3 separate regions of the Homo sapiens genome follow, and regions 1 and 3 are each linked to region 2. Evidence: promoter capture Hi-C in 16 types of primary human blood cells and fetal thymus (Javierre and others, 2016). All regions are on one chromosome and are shown on one strand. The core of a region is centred on a gene start or on the middle of the fragment in contact, and the rest is flanking DNA. Distances in the headings are between cores, read along the strand shown. Region 1 overlaps ARNT2 (aryl hydrocarbon receptor nuclear translocator 2). Region 2 holds the start of MESD (mesoderm development LRP chaperone). Region 3 overlaps ARNT2 (aryl hydrocarbon receptor nuclear translocator 2).

Region 1 (3,968 bases), core at 110-2,609, 520 kb before region 2:
GTGATGGATTTGAAAGCACTTCATTGTGTATAGCCGGTGGGGGGGCATTGGGGTGGGGAGGTGAAATAATACAGTTGTCAGGGCATGCAGTTAGGAAATGCAAAAGTATGTAGGGTATAGGGTCCTAAAAGTAATGGAGGATTTAACAAGACACAGCGTGTGGCCAAGCTGAAATAGAGTGGAAGTGTCCTGGTATTATCAAGAGGGACTTCTCAGGACAGAGACAGTATTGGCATAGAAAGGAGCCACAAAAAATACCTAGAAAGAGGGGAGCAGAAGGGATTTCACAAAAAGGGAAGAGTGTGTACAGAACCTCACAGGCAGGAATGAAAAAGATTTTGTTGGGAGACCTAATGATTTATTCTGCTAGAGCCGAGACTCGATTTATGTCATGGAAGTTAGGTTTAAAAAGAATAAGGGATGAGGAACTAACGTTTATTACTGTCTGTTCTGTGGCAGACACTTTAGCAAGCACTTCACCTATTTGATCCCTTTCTAAATCATCCCAGTGGTCATGGGAGCCCTCGCTTGGCAGATGTTAGGAAGGTCCAGCAGTGGTAATATGTGCCACTTGGAGGACACAAACTGTGGTGGTCAGGGCAGGAGCTTCAAGCCTCATTTCCACCTCTGTAAAAATAAATGCAGTGATAGCTCCCAGCTCGTGTGGTTGTGGTGAGGAAGGCAACAAGCATAGACTGTTTAACATGGGCCTGAGGTATAATGAAGGGTAAATAGCTGGTAAGTAACAGACAGAAATTATTGAGCACTACTGGCTGCTAGAATCAGTTTTTTGTCTATATTTTTTTAATCCTCACCAAAAGACCTACAGAGTCAAGGTTTGAAATGAATCTCGTTATCTTTAAGTGACTGAGGATTATGAAAGTGGCGTGAAGAGAGAAGGCAGCTATGCAGGTCAGATGAGCCCTACCTTTGTTCCTCTCTCAGCTGCTTGGATGGTGATGATAATGGTTACATTTATGGAGCACCTACTGTGTGCCAGGCCCTTACTAAGTCCTCACACACAGCATCTCATTTAACCTTGCAAGAGCTCACTGAAAAACATTGCTGAGGGCGTGAAGTAACATGCCCAAAGTTGCACAGCTAAGTGGGAGAGCGGTAGGTGATAGTCTCCTTTTACTCCAGAATACATGCTCTTAACCGTGACTGTTTTCTTGGAGTGTAGAGGCTGGTTCTGGATCAGGGCACAGGAACTTGGTAGTGATAGATGGTCTCCCAGGGAATACACATCAGGGAGGAGGGTGGAAAAAAGAGGGTCCGTGATGCGAGCAGGGCTTCATCCCATAAGACCTCCCCACAGTCTTTGCAAACTGGACAAAAATGTGAATTCATGAGTAAAGTCATTCAGTCTCCACTTCCTCTCCTCCAGTGACAAAGAATTCTGTACTTCCCCAGGCACCCTCTTCCGTTTTTAATTCTCTTAACAGCTCTTTCTGTTGGGAAGATCATCCAAAAACTGAAAATAAAAATGCTGACCGAATTCCCTGAACTAATTAAGCATCTAGGTGACGCAGAACAGCAAAAGTGCAAAGCAAGAGAAATGGGCAAAATAAACTTATCCTTAAAAAATGCTTGTACCAACTGCTTCTGCCCTGGTTTCCCAGGCAGAGGATGTTAGAATTCCTCCCCAGCCAAGGGCTTAGACACATTTACAAAGCTCCCTGGGTTCTGCTCATCAGCATATCAATGTTCCCTAGTCTCTGGGTCCTTGTACCCTGCTCAGTTACTGGGATTTGGGGCGCCAGACTCTCCACCTTTTGCCTTCACTCTGCTGGCTGTCCATGTGCTTTACAGTGGGGTTTTCACATAAGATTACATTCAAACAAAAGATTGCCAGCCAAAAGATGTTTGCTAGCTGCTGACCTAGAAGGATACCTTTGTCCTCTGGAGCCTGAACAGTACTTGAAGTGGTTGGAAGGGTGGCCATGGATTACAGTGTCTAGGGAAGACTTAGTGCCTGGCTCCTGCAGGCACAAAGCCCATTTCATTCAGTGGCAAAGGGCTCCTTAGCTTGATGTGAGAATAGTATGGGCAACTATACTTGAGCTGCCTTCAGGCGCTGCAAAGAAAAGACATCTTGTTTTAACAAAGTTAATTTTGCCCCATCCACGTCCTTCTGAGGATAATATCAAGGCTTCCTGCTGCCCCTTCCTTGATCCCAGTTTCCTCCCTGCCTTCAATGACAGTCATGACCCCAATGAATCAATGTGAGCTGAAGGTTGATGCTCCTATCCTCTTCTCACTGTAAAGTGATATGGATAATGCTGTATTCCCTGCTGCCTCCCAGAGTTACTCTGAGAGTCTTTTGAGATGATGGTGATTATTGTCAGTTCTGGAAATCTGACAGAAATGCAAATGTAAGGGGATACTCTTATAGCCAGTGCCAGCATTCAGCTCAGAAATATGGAAAGAGAAAAGGAACAAGAGGGTACTTTCAGTACGGCAAGCTGTGGGTGGGGAGACACGTGGTCTCTTTCGTTCTCCCTTCTCACCTTCCCCTTCCCCTTCCCTTCCTTCTATCTAGCACCTTTTGTGCCAAGCACTATGTGTTGGGCCCTTCTGCTCCAATGACATGACTACAGTTTCAATATGTGGCAAAGCTGTTCACGCCTCTGGCAACCCAGTACCTTCTGGTGATCACTCATTGCTCTCCCATCCCCCTAGGCTGGAAATTTTCTCTCCCCAACAAAGGACTAATGAAGATGGGCTAACCGTGTTTACAGTAGCTGTATCGTAGGGATGGTGCAAGCTTTGTGCATTTTTCTAGCTTATTTTCCAGAAACAAAGTTCTCATTTCCCAAACTATTTGTGTACCAGAATAAATATGCAGATAAAGGAAATTGAAGGCTGCTTTCCCAATAAGAAAGTTGAATCATCCTGGGTCTGTCAGTGTATTGTGCCAATCATAATCTTTTCTTTATAGGAACTGAAGCATCTCATCCTTGAAGCAGCTGATGGATTTCTGTTTGTGGTGGCTGCTGAGACAGGGCGAGTGATTTATGTGTCTGACTCCGTCACCCCTGTTCTGAACCAGCCCCAGTCAGAGTGGTTTGGGAGCACACTGTATGAACAGGTGCATCCTGATGACGTGGAGAAGCTGAGAGAGCAACTGTGCACCTCAGAAAACTCAATGACAGGTCAGTGGAGCTCCCTTTATGAGGCTGTTTGACTCTAGAAAACATTCTTGGCTGGGCATGGTGGCTCACGCCTGTAATCCCAGTACTTTGGGAGGCTGAGGCGGGTGGATCACGAGGTCAGGAGATCAAGACCATCCTGGCTAACATGGTGAAACCCCGTCTCTACAAAAAATACAAAAACAAAAAATTTGCCAGGCGTGGTGGTGGGCGCCTGTGGTCCCAGCTACTCCGGAGGCTGAGGTGGGAGAATGGCATGAACCTGGGAGGCAGAGCTTGCAGTGAGCCAAGATTGTGCCACTACACTCCAGCCTGGGTGACAGAGTGAGACTCTGTCTCAAAAAAAAAAAAAAAAAAAAATTATTTTAGTAAACAGGCCAGGAAACTGGAGGCCATAAAAAGCTGCCTAAAGGTGAGGGAATATATGTGAGTTGGCCTGTGTGATAGCTTCATTCATTCGATAACATTTAAAAATCCATTTTTACTACATCACATTTTTCTGTATTTTACCTGCAATTAGTATACATTACCACTAGAGGTTGTCGTTGATATATTAGCCAGATCCATATGCCCTGTTTGAAGTTTATCCAATAAGCATGTGATTTTCTGTGATCCTGACCATAAACATTCATTACCCAGGCCTTAGTTACCTGAAATCTAGTTCCTTATTGAAATGTTTAAATATAGTCAATTCTACTCATACATGTTTCTAAAAATCACTGCAGTATACACAATCATGCAATTCAAAACTATAGGGCTTATCGAGAAAAAGTGGTTTAGAAGAACAACACTCAATAATTTGTCAGATAAAAGCAA
Region 2 (4,338 bases), core at 99-2,598:
TTATTTGCTGGAGTCCAAAAAGAGACAAGGAGATTGCAAGGGAGACGGTGAATGGGGACGTTCTCTCTACACTCAAATCTATCCCAATCTTTCCATCAGCTGTTGATGACCACATGAAAACACAAGCCTGCATTCTTCTAGTCAGATGCATCAGGTGGTATTTTAAACTCTTGTCTGAAAGTCTTTCCCTTCTCCCGTAACACACACAGAGATAATCACAAAATAACAAAACATCAGTGTTGGAAGGAATCTTAGGACCCATCCTAACCTCCTCATGTTGCAGATAAAGAAACCGAGGCCTAGAAACTAGACATAACCTGCCCAAGGTTCCACAGCTATGCAAGTCAACCAGGACGATACAATCACCTTAGGAAGGGGAAAAGGCAGCAATGTGGTTTTGGCCAGTAATCTTTACCTTAAAGCGTATTACACACTCCCTGTAACTGCACACTCCGGTGCGTCCAAGTGACAAACCAGAAAACTTACTCTCCTTTGAACAAAAAGCGTGAGTTTCACGATACAGAGCCATTAGCCATTGATACTTCTCCCCTCAGTAAAATAAATCCACCCACAAAAAGCACAAAATTCCCAGCAGGGACATATACCAAAATAGGAAGTCTAAAATTATACTGATTTAGAAGACAGCTGAGATAACCATTAAGGAAGACCATCTTCACTGCAACCCACTCTCCCACCCACTCACCGCAAAACAGAAGGAAATGCTCTTTAGTAGATTGGGAAAGGTCACTCTCCCTGTTTGCAGGGCTCACTGACCACAAGAATCAACGCAAAGACAACCAGGGCACTGAAGGGTGAAGGGAGAGCAAAGCTGAACAGTGAGGGGCAGATCCGTGATTGAAGTGGTTTGAGAAATGGCAGGAGGAACAGGGCACTGGAATGACAGAGGGCTGGAGCGAGGGTCAGCAGGGCGCGCGGGTCAGAGGAGGAATGGAGGGTCAACAGTGGCTTCAGTGGGTCAGTAAGGATTCAAGGCATGAGTAGAGGAGGTTAGGGGGTCAGAAAGGTCCCAAGACAGAACAGGTAAGGGGTCATAGGGAACAGGGTCCCGCACAGAGAAGAGCCGGGAGGGTGTGCGCGCGCCGCGGACCTCCCATTGCTCCAGAAGACGCGCCATGTCTGCATCATTGTAATCGCGAATATCCTTCTTCTTCTTCCGGGGAGGTGGGGTAGACTCGTCGGGCGTCCCGGGCGAGCCTTCGGCCGCGCAGGACCCAGGCGGTGGTAGCAGTAGCAGCAGCAGCAGCAGGTCAGAGGCACAAAGCAGGACCACGGCCTTGCGCGCCCACCTGGAAGCCGCCATTTTCGCTGCGCCGCGCAGCGCCCTAGACGCGCTTACCCGACCTGCGCGGGCCGGACCCCGCCTTGCACACGCCTTCCTGTCCGCCTTTCCGAGGCCCCGCCTCCCGGCCCTCGCTAGCCTACCGGGCCCCGCCCCGTACCATTTCCTAACCCCCGCCTCTGGAAGCCCCGCCCCTCCGCCATTTTGGCCCCGCCCCACTGGCTCCTCCTCTTGGTCCGGCTGAGGCGCTCTGTCCCGGCTGGGTGGGTCCCTGAGTGCTCATTTTTCGTTTTCCGTCAGAGGCCGACCTTTTTCTCTGGAACGCACAAGCCAGGTCCAAAAGTTCCTTCAGGGCCTCCAGGAACCACTAACCAACGTCCCTGTTGACCTCAGTTTCTCGCCTGTGAAATAAATTGGAACTGGAAGTTCTGGAGGCTGCCTCGGCTCTAAAAAAGCCCATTTCTGGATGTCGGACGTTTATCCTCAGTCTCTTGCAATTTCCTTTGAGAACAGCCAGTTAAAAAGAAGTGAGTGGCAGGTAGGGCAACTTTTTTCAGAAAGTCATAAATAGTTCGAGTCCACTGCTTTCCTCATCAATAAAGAGGATTCAGTTCAACCAGCTTTCAATATTTGTTTTTTTTTTCCAAAAAGATCATTACTATTCATCCAAAAAAAAAAAAGCTTGCCTTTCTTTGATTTCAACCTAATACTGTAGGCTCTAACTAATCCTTTTCAAGGCTGAATCACGCTACTTTTTGTTTCTTAAAAAGATTTTGGCCAAAGATGCTTTGAGATTCTTCTTGTTTTAAACGGCTCATCAGCTGATGTCTTTAAAATGTTTAATTACATAAGACCTTAAAAAACAAAAAACAAAAAAAACCAAAGGCCGCACGGTGGCTTAAGCCTTTATAATCCCAGCACTTTGGGAGGCTGAGGTAGGACGATAATTTGAGTTTAGGAGTTTGAGACCAGACTGGGCAATAAAGCAAGACCCGCATCTCAAAAACAACAACAAAAAACGCTTCATTCTTTATACTGCTGCACAGTTTTATTTGGTATTGTTAAATTAATAGTTTATTTTCCTATTGATGGGCATTTATTACCAATTTTTCTGCTATTACAACAAAAAAGAGCTGTAGTAAACCTTATTCAAGCCTTGTTTGGATAGGATTAGTAGGCTGCATATAAAAGAAAACTGACTTTTTAAGGTGGTTTAAACAAGATAAAAGGTTTTATTGTGATTGACTTTTCTTTCACAGAAGCAGTGTAAACTCGAAACTAGGGCTGGTATAGTGGCTTCTCAGCCATCTGGTACTCAGCCTCTTCCTCATCCTTCTATCATATTAGCCTGTGGCTTCCACCCTCAAGGTCAGAAATTCCAGGATGGCTCCTGGAGCTCCAGTCATCAAGATGACATTCAACCAGAGGAAGGGAGAAGGCAGGCCAAACCAAGCACACCTTTCAAGTGGAGTCAACTTCTTTTAAGCAGCCTACTTGAACATTGCATACATTTCTGTTTACATCTCATTGGCTGGAACCTAGCTCTCCAAGGGAGGCTGAGAAATTGTCTTCTAGCTGTATACATTGTCATCTCAAATGAAATTAGGATTGTTATAAAGGGAAAAGAATAAAGTGGAGGTTGAGTAGGCAACTACGCCTGCTTTCCTTCACTCTTAGGACCAGTGCAATTTAAATTCTCTCACACCGTAGGAGTGGCTGATATTCTACATATTCATGCATGCATCTGTATGTAAACACGCTAAGCTATGACCTTTCCTATTGACGTTGAGCAGAAACAACTCATAAGAAAAAGATTTTTTCTTTTGTGAAATCATAGGGGAAATGTCATGAGCTTTCTCCCCAGAGCACATTGCTCCACCCAGTGGCTTGGAGCCCTATCCTAGTGCAGTCATACTAAAAAACATGCACAGCTGTGGCTGATCATGTGCTCTACTGGGAGGGGTCACCCTGGTAATTCATATTGCCAGCTTCAAAGTTAAGGGGCAAACGTGTTGGGATTCTTGGCCCACATATCTAGTTATAGAGAATAAGATCATTGAAAGTTTTACAGAAATTGTTGGGAATGTGTAGAAAGTTTCAGGGCTACTGACTTTCCTCTAAGGAGGAAATCAATTCGGCATATAATCCACTGATATGAAAACATCTGGATCAATTGCATTTTCAACATTTGGATATTTGAAACTTACTTTAGTGTTTGGAACTTGATTCCATTCAACTTGGGGGGAATTTTATTTACCAAAGACCTATTGTTAACCAAGAATCAGGTGAGGCACTGATGCAAAAATGAATATAACAATATCCTTACTCTGGCAGAGCAGATAAACAATATGCAGTAAATTTCATGCAGATTACAGGAGATCCGGGCCCAAAGGGATGATGTGATGATGATGATAATCTCTCCAATTTAAATAAGAGGAAATCCTGGTTTTACAATTACACAATTTGTCTGAGGCTGCACAGCTAGTGCAGCGGCAAGGCAAGAATCTAAGCCGAGGTGTACTGGATAACAAGGTCCAGTCTTCTTGGAGTCCTTCTTCCGCCACAGCACCATCTAGGTTAATCAGTGAGGCACTCAGGATGGTTAAATTGGGAGCCAAATGGAAAATGCATTGAAAAGTCTGGAGCGAGGAGCACTCAGATGGGACAAGAGTCTGTGCCAGGTACCAGGTGGTGCAGTGTAGACTGGAGAGGACAGATGTGAAAGATTGTGTGCTCATGGCCTAAGTGAAGCCACAAGTCTCTTCAGTGCTCTGGGGTTAATACTAACCCCACCTCTAAGTGATTCAGTGACTGTGGATGGTAAAGTTGAATCTCAGATCTAATTAGTGTCTTAACCTGAGCTCATCCTGGCATGCATCATTCCACAACAGAGGAGGGTGAAGCAAGACTTTCTAGTACTATTTGGAAGCAGGCGGGGGTAATATTCAAAATGTTGAAAAACTGGAGTAGCACAATTACCAGTTAATCAGAACTGAGGCAGATGAGCTGATGGGTACAGTCACCATTGTGCCAAACAT
Region 3 (4,252 bases), core at 1,435-3,934, 560 kb before region 2:
ATCATCTATGTGTCATTTATAAGATCAAACCAGATGATCAAAGCCATAACAAAGCTCCTAGGTCAAAGTTCCTCCTATCCTGGAAGCTCCTTGGATGTGTTCCCTGTTGGGATAGCCCAGGGCTAGGAGGAACCATCCCAAAGGAACAGAGCCCAAAGCTACTGTAGATGCTGACTGTCCAGTCTCAACGGGAGCTGCAAATAGCCTCAGTCCCTCTGTGCTGGCTTCTTTGCACTCTCACTCTCCTGTCTCTGAAGGGCTGGAATCTGCCTGATTCTTCATGGGTGTTGGTTGTGACCTCAGGGTTTTTCTTTGCTCTAGTGGTCTTTTTTGCCTTAGTGACAGAGAAGTAATCGGAACTGGGAAATGTGGGAATGAAGGAACGCAATCTCCTATCCTCTCTCCCACAATACACAGAACCCTGACAGCAGTTGGGCAGCCTGTCCAGGGCAGCAGTGGGCACAGATATGCAAATCCAGCACTGATCTTCCCTTAGTGGACTAACCTATGATCTTGCCCTGCACCTGCTGTGTGCTGGGCCCTGTTCTGGGTGGTGCATGTACGTGGTGATGAACCATGCACTCTCCTTCCCCAGATTCTGTCCCAGGGTTTTTTCCCACCAGCTGTCAGTCTGCCTATCTTCATTTATATCCTTCCTGGAATCCAATGTCACGATCCCCCCACAAAGCAATGGACACCGCTCAGGTACTTACATGTACCCCTGAAGCCACCTGCCACCACCACCCCATTCCCTCAAAATAAAGACAAAAACAAAACCAGAATCCTGAACCTTACATTTTCTTCGGGAGGCCACAGCCTTGGGCCTTGTGAACAGCACGCCCCCTCTGTCCTCTCTGCATGTTCTTCTCGAGGGCCTGGTGCTCTTCTGTGCAGGGGTATCACTGGGACCGTGGCAGTGGGATATAGAGCATTTGTAATCATCGTTCTTGCCATGCCCAGGTTATGGCCAGATCAGATCCACCCCCTCCCATTCCACAGCACAGGTCCTTTCCTGACCTTGCTCCTGCCAACCACTTCCCTCTGAAATCCCTTTTGCTCCTTTCCCAGTAACAATGAGGCTTCCCTTCAGGGTCCTGAAGAGGGCACAGAGGGCTCCCTGGCTCCCTTTGAGCCTGTCCTGTCTCCAAGTCCCGAAGCCATTCCCGGATGGGCCGTAGTAGGGGAGTGGGCCGGAAGATAGTCTGAAGCGGCTGGAATAGGGGTCCTTACAGACAGGCCCACCTTCCTCTCGTGATTGTCTGTTCTTCCCTTGGACCTCCTGGGCAGGCCCCTGTCTCTGCCTCCTGTCTGGCTGTTTTTCCAGGCTACCGGTTGTTGTCCCTACTTATCCAGCAGGGATCCTCATTAGGGGACACTGGCCTACCAGCTCTCTCCCTTTTGGTGCTGAGGGTGGGCTTTGTTCCTCCAGTGCTTCCTCAAAGACCCCCTGGTGGCCGAAGCCCTCTCTCAGGACCTCCTGGTGGAGAGCACCCAGCAGGGGGCTGAGCAGCTGAAGTAGCTCTCAGCTGAAGTAGCTCTCTGAAGCAACCGGCCATTCTGGGGTCGCTGCCCAGGGCCGCTCCTCCTTTTCCTCCAGGACAAGCTCAGGTATGTCAGCCTAAATGGCCCAATGGAACTGACCATGATCCTTGTGAAAGTTTTTCTCCACGGAGAATTGATGCTGCTGTCTCCTGAAAGCTCAGCTGCAAAGATTAAGGGCCTACTGTCAATAGGTAAAAATGCAGCATCTGTTTCCCATTCAACTACTGCTCCCTGGAGGGTGTGGACTTTGATGAAATAGTGCACCCGCACCAGCCCTTCACCTGCGTCTCTGGGGCACGGGGGGAACGGCAGTGTCTTGCCATCAGGTCAGCTGAATTAGAGGTAGAAGATTTCTCGCCTCTTCTTGAATTTTCTGGGACCTGATGCTTAGATCAGAGGTTGGCAAATTATGGCCAATGGGCTGCATCTGCCCTGCCTCCTGTTTTTGTATGGGCCATGAGCTGAGAATAATTTTTACATTTTTAAATTGATGGAAAAAAAACACCAAAAGAATATTCCATGACATGTGGAAATTATTTGAAATTCAAATCTCAGTGCTCATGCATTGAAACACAACCACCCCCACTCATTTATAGACTGTGTCTACGGTTGCTTTTGTACCATAACTGCAGCGTTGAGTAGTTGCCACAGAGACCTTATGGCCTTCAAAGCCTGAAATATTTACTTTCTGATCCTTCCCAGAAAAAGTTTGCCAACCTGTGGCTTAGGTGGTGCAGGTGGAGATGGATCTTCTGCTTGGGCTGAGGCCTCTGAGAGACACAACAATGTTCCCATGAACAGAGAGCTTGTCCTCCTCTATAACCAGAAGGTATGGTCTCACCATCACAGCTCAGCCTCCTGTGCTAGGAAATCCCACAGCCTTTTTCTCCTCCAGAAGCTCATGCTCCCCTATCTTCAAGTATTGGAGTCCCAAGCATAAATTAAGACATCGAGGAGCATCCCATTTGGTTTATAGTACCAAATAGCATAAAAATAACACCTTAACTGCTTTGAAAAGAAAACAGATTTTAATGCCTTGTGTGTAAACATTTTTACTGTTTTGCATATATTTTATATTTGTAGAGTAATTCACAGTTTAAAATTTAACACAAAATGTTTTTTTGGTGAATGATGGATGAATATATTCATCAAGGAATATATTCAACAAGGAAACTACTTTGTTTCATAAAACCTCTTAAAGGGGATTTTAGATCTGTGGAAGGATATGTGAGTTCCTTAATCAATTTGTTGTGTAAACAGCGGGTATGCCCACATTTTTTTTCCTTTTTAGAAAAGGCACTATATTTTATTTATTTTATTTTATTTTATTTTATTTTATTTTATTTTATTTTATTTTATTTTATTTTATTTTATTTTTTGAGACCGAGTCTTGCTCTGTTGCCCAGGCTGGAGTGCAGTGGTGCGATCTCGGCTCACTGCAACCTCTGCCTCCCAGGTTCAAGTGATTCTCCTGCCTCAGCCTCTCGAGTAGCTGGGTCTACAGGTGCACACCACCACGCCCGGCTAATTTTTGTATTTTTAGTAGAGACGAGGTTTCACCATGTTGTCCAGACTGGACTTGAACTGCTGGCCTCAAGTGATCCACCCACCACCTCCCCCCGCCTCGGCCTCCCAAAGTGCTGGAATTACAGGCGTGAGCCACCACACCCAGCCTAGAAAAGGCATTTTATAGAAATAATTGTATTTAGAGAATGAGATACCATTTTGTTACTGGAGGGGCAAAGGGAAAGCCTCTTCATTTTCTGAAGGTTTGCTGAAAAATCAACTCACAAAAGGCAGGTTAATTGGAGAAAATGGGTATAAATTTTATTAATGTGTACATGAGAACCTTCAGAATGACCCAAAGATACAGAGGAAACTGACCATTTTTATGCTTATGTTCAACAAAGTATGGACAGCCGTGTAGATATAGGATTAGACGAAAAGGGCATGATCCAATGTCAATCGGCTGAGTGGGGAAACTCAGCAAGGCCTGTCTGTTTAGATTCTTCTTGGCCTTGCTGAACGTGCATTCCTTCCTTCTGAGTATGAGGCAGGACCCTCTCTGGAATGAGGGTCTTATGACCTTCAGTCAAACAAGGTAGGGCAGATAGTTTCTTTATGGCCAGTTTTCACACAGAAAGGCAGAGGGAAAGTTAGAGTGACATCTTTAAGTTTTATGGCTGGCTTTGGGGAAAAAGGCTTCTGGCTTCCATGCCCTGCCCTGGGGCAGAGGGATTCTAGTGTCTGTGTCTAGCCTCAGGGGAGAATGGCGCTAAGAGACAGGAGGGCAAGAGAAGATCAGAGAAATAAATTTTTCCTCTGAGGATGCTTCTGAGGCCTTCATTTTGGGGTATTGTTGACTGAGTCCTGACATTTATGATTTTACAAGATTTCCTGAACAGGAAGTGCTCCTTTTTCTCCAGTTCACAATGTCACACTGGGCATCTATGGACTTGAGAATAACGGAATTGCCTTTGCTGCGTGGATTTTCTTATGCACGTTTGCTTCATTGCCATTAATCTTCACATATTACACCTAGAAACTTGAAGCCGGAAGCAAAGTCCAGAGTGACAAAGCCAGAGAAGAGAGACCTAGGAAAGAAAGCATTTGTGTGAAGGTGTGAGTGTGAGCTCATCTGTGCTTTTTGTCGGGGAGGCAGAGCATTAGTAGGACTCAGAGATGCCCAGAGGGGTCAAAGGAGTGGGGA

What was found. The method cuts DNA at HindIII sites, captures the fragments that hold promoters and counts their contacts. A CHiCAGO score of 5 or more calls a contact.
Region 1: a contact is called between a fragment that was not itself captured here and the fragment with the promoter of MESD in region 2, in 2 of 17 cell types (M1 macrophages and M2 macrophages). The highest score is 7.1, in M1 macrophages.
Region 3: a fragment that was not itself captured here is called in contact with the fragment with the promoter of MESD in region 2 in 1 of 17 cell types (M2 macrophages); the score reaches 5.7 in M2 macrophages.

Annotation. Positions count from the first base shown.
Region 1 is chr15:80,472,069-80,476,036 of GRCh38, forward strand. It overlaps ARNT2 (aryl hydrocarbon receptor nuclear translocator 2), which reads left to right. Exons shown (of 19, transcript NM_014862.4): 5 at 2,942-3,155. Among named protein-coding and RNA genes, the nearest start is that of ARNT2, 70 kb to the left of the region's middle. The HindIII fragment of the contact is 2,811 bases long and covers 1-2,765 here.
Region 2 is chr15:80,988,471-80,992,808 of GRCh38, forward strand. It overlaps MESD (mesoderm development LRP chaperone), which reads right to left and starts at 1,349. Exons shown (of 3, transcript NM_015154.3): 1 at 1,109-1,349. The coding sequence starts at 1,321. RefSeq lists enhancers at 430-1,044, 1,033-1,312, 1,045-1,658, 1,298-1,592 and a silencer at 1,343-1,622. The HindIII fragment of the contact is 12,917 bases long and covers 1-1,979 here.
Region 3 is chr15:80,430,383-80,434,634 of GRCh38, forward strand. The region is part of intron 1 of ARNT2 (aryl hydrocarbon receptor nuclear translocator 2); the gene reads left to right. Among named protein-coding and RNA genes, the nearest start is that of ARNT2, 28 kb to the left of the region's middle. The HindIII fragment of the contact is 7,588 bases long and covers 1-4,252 here.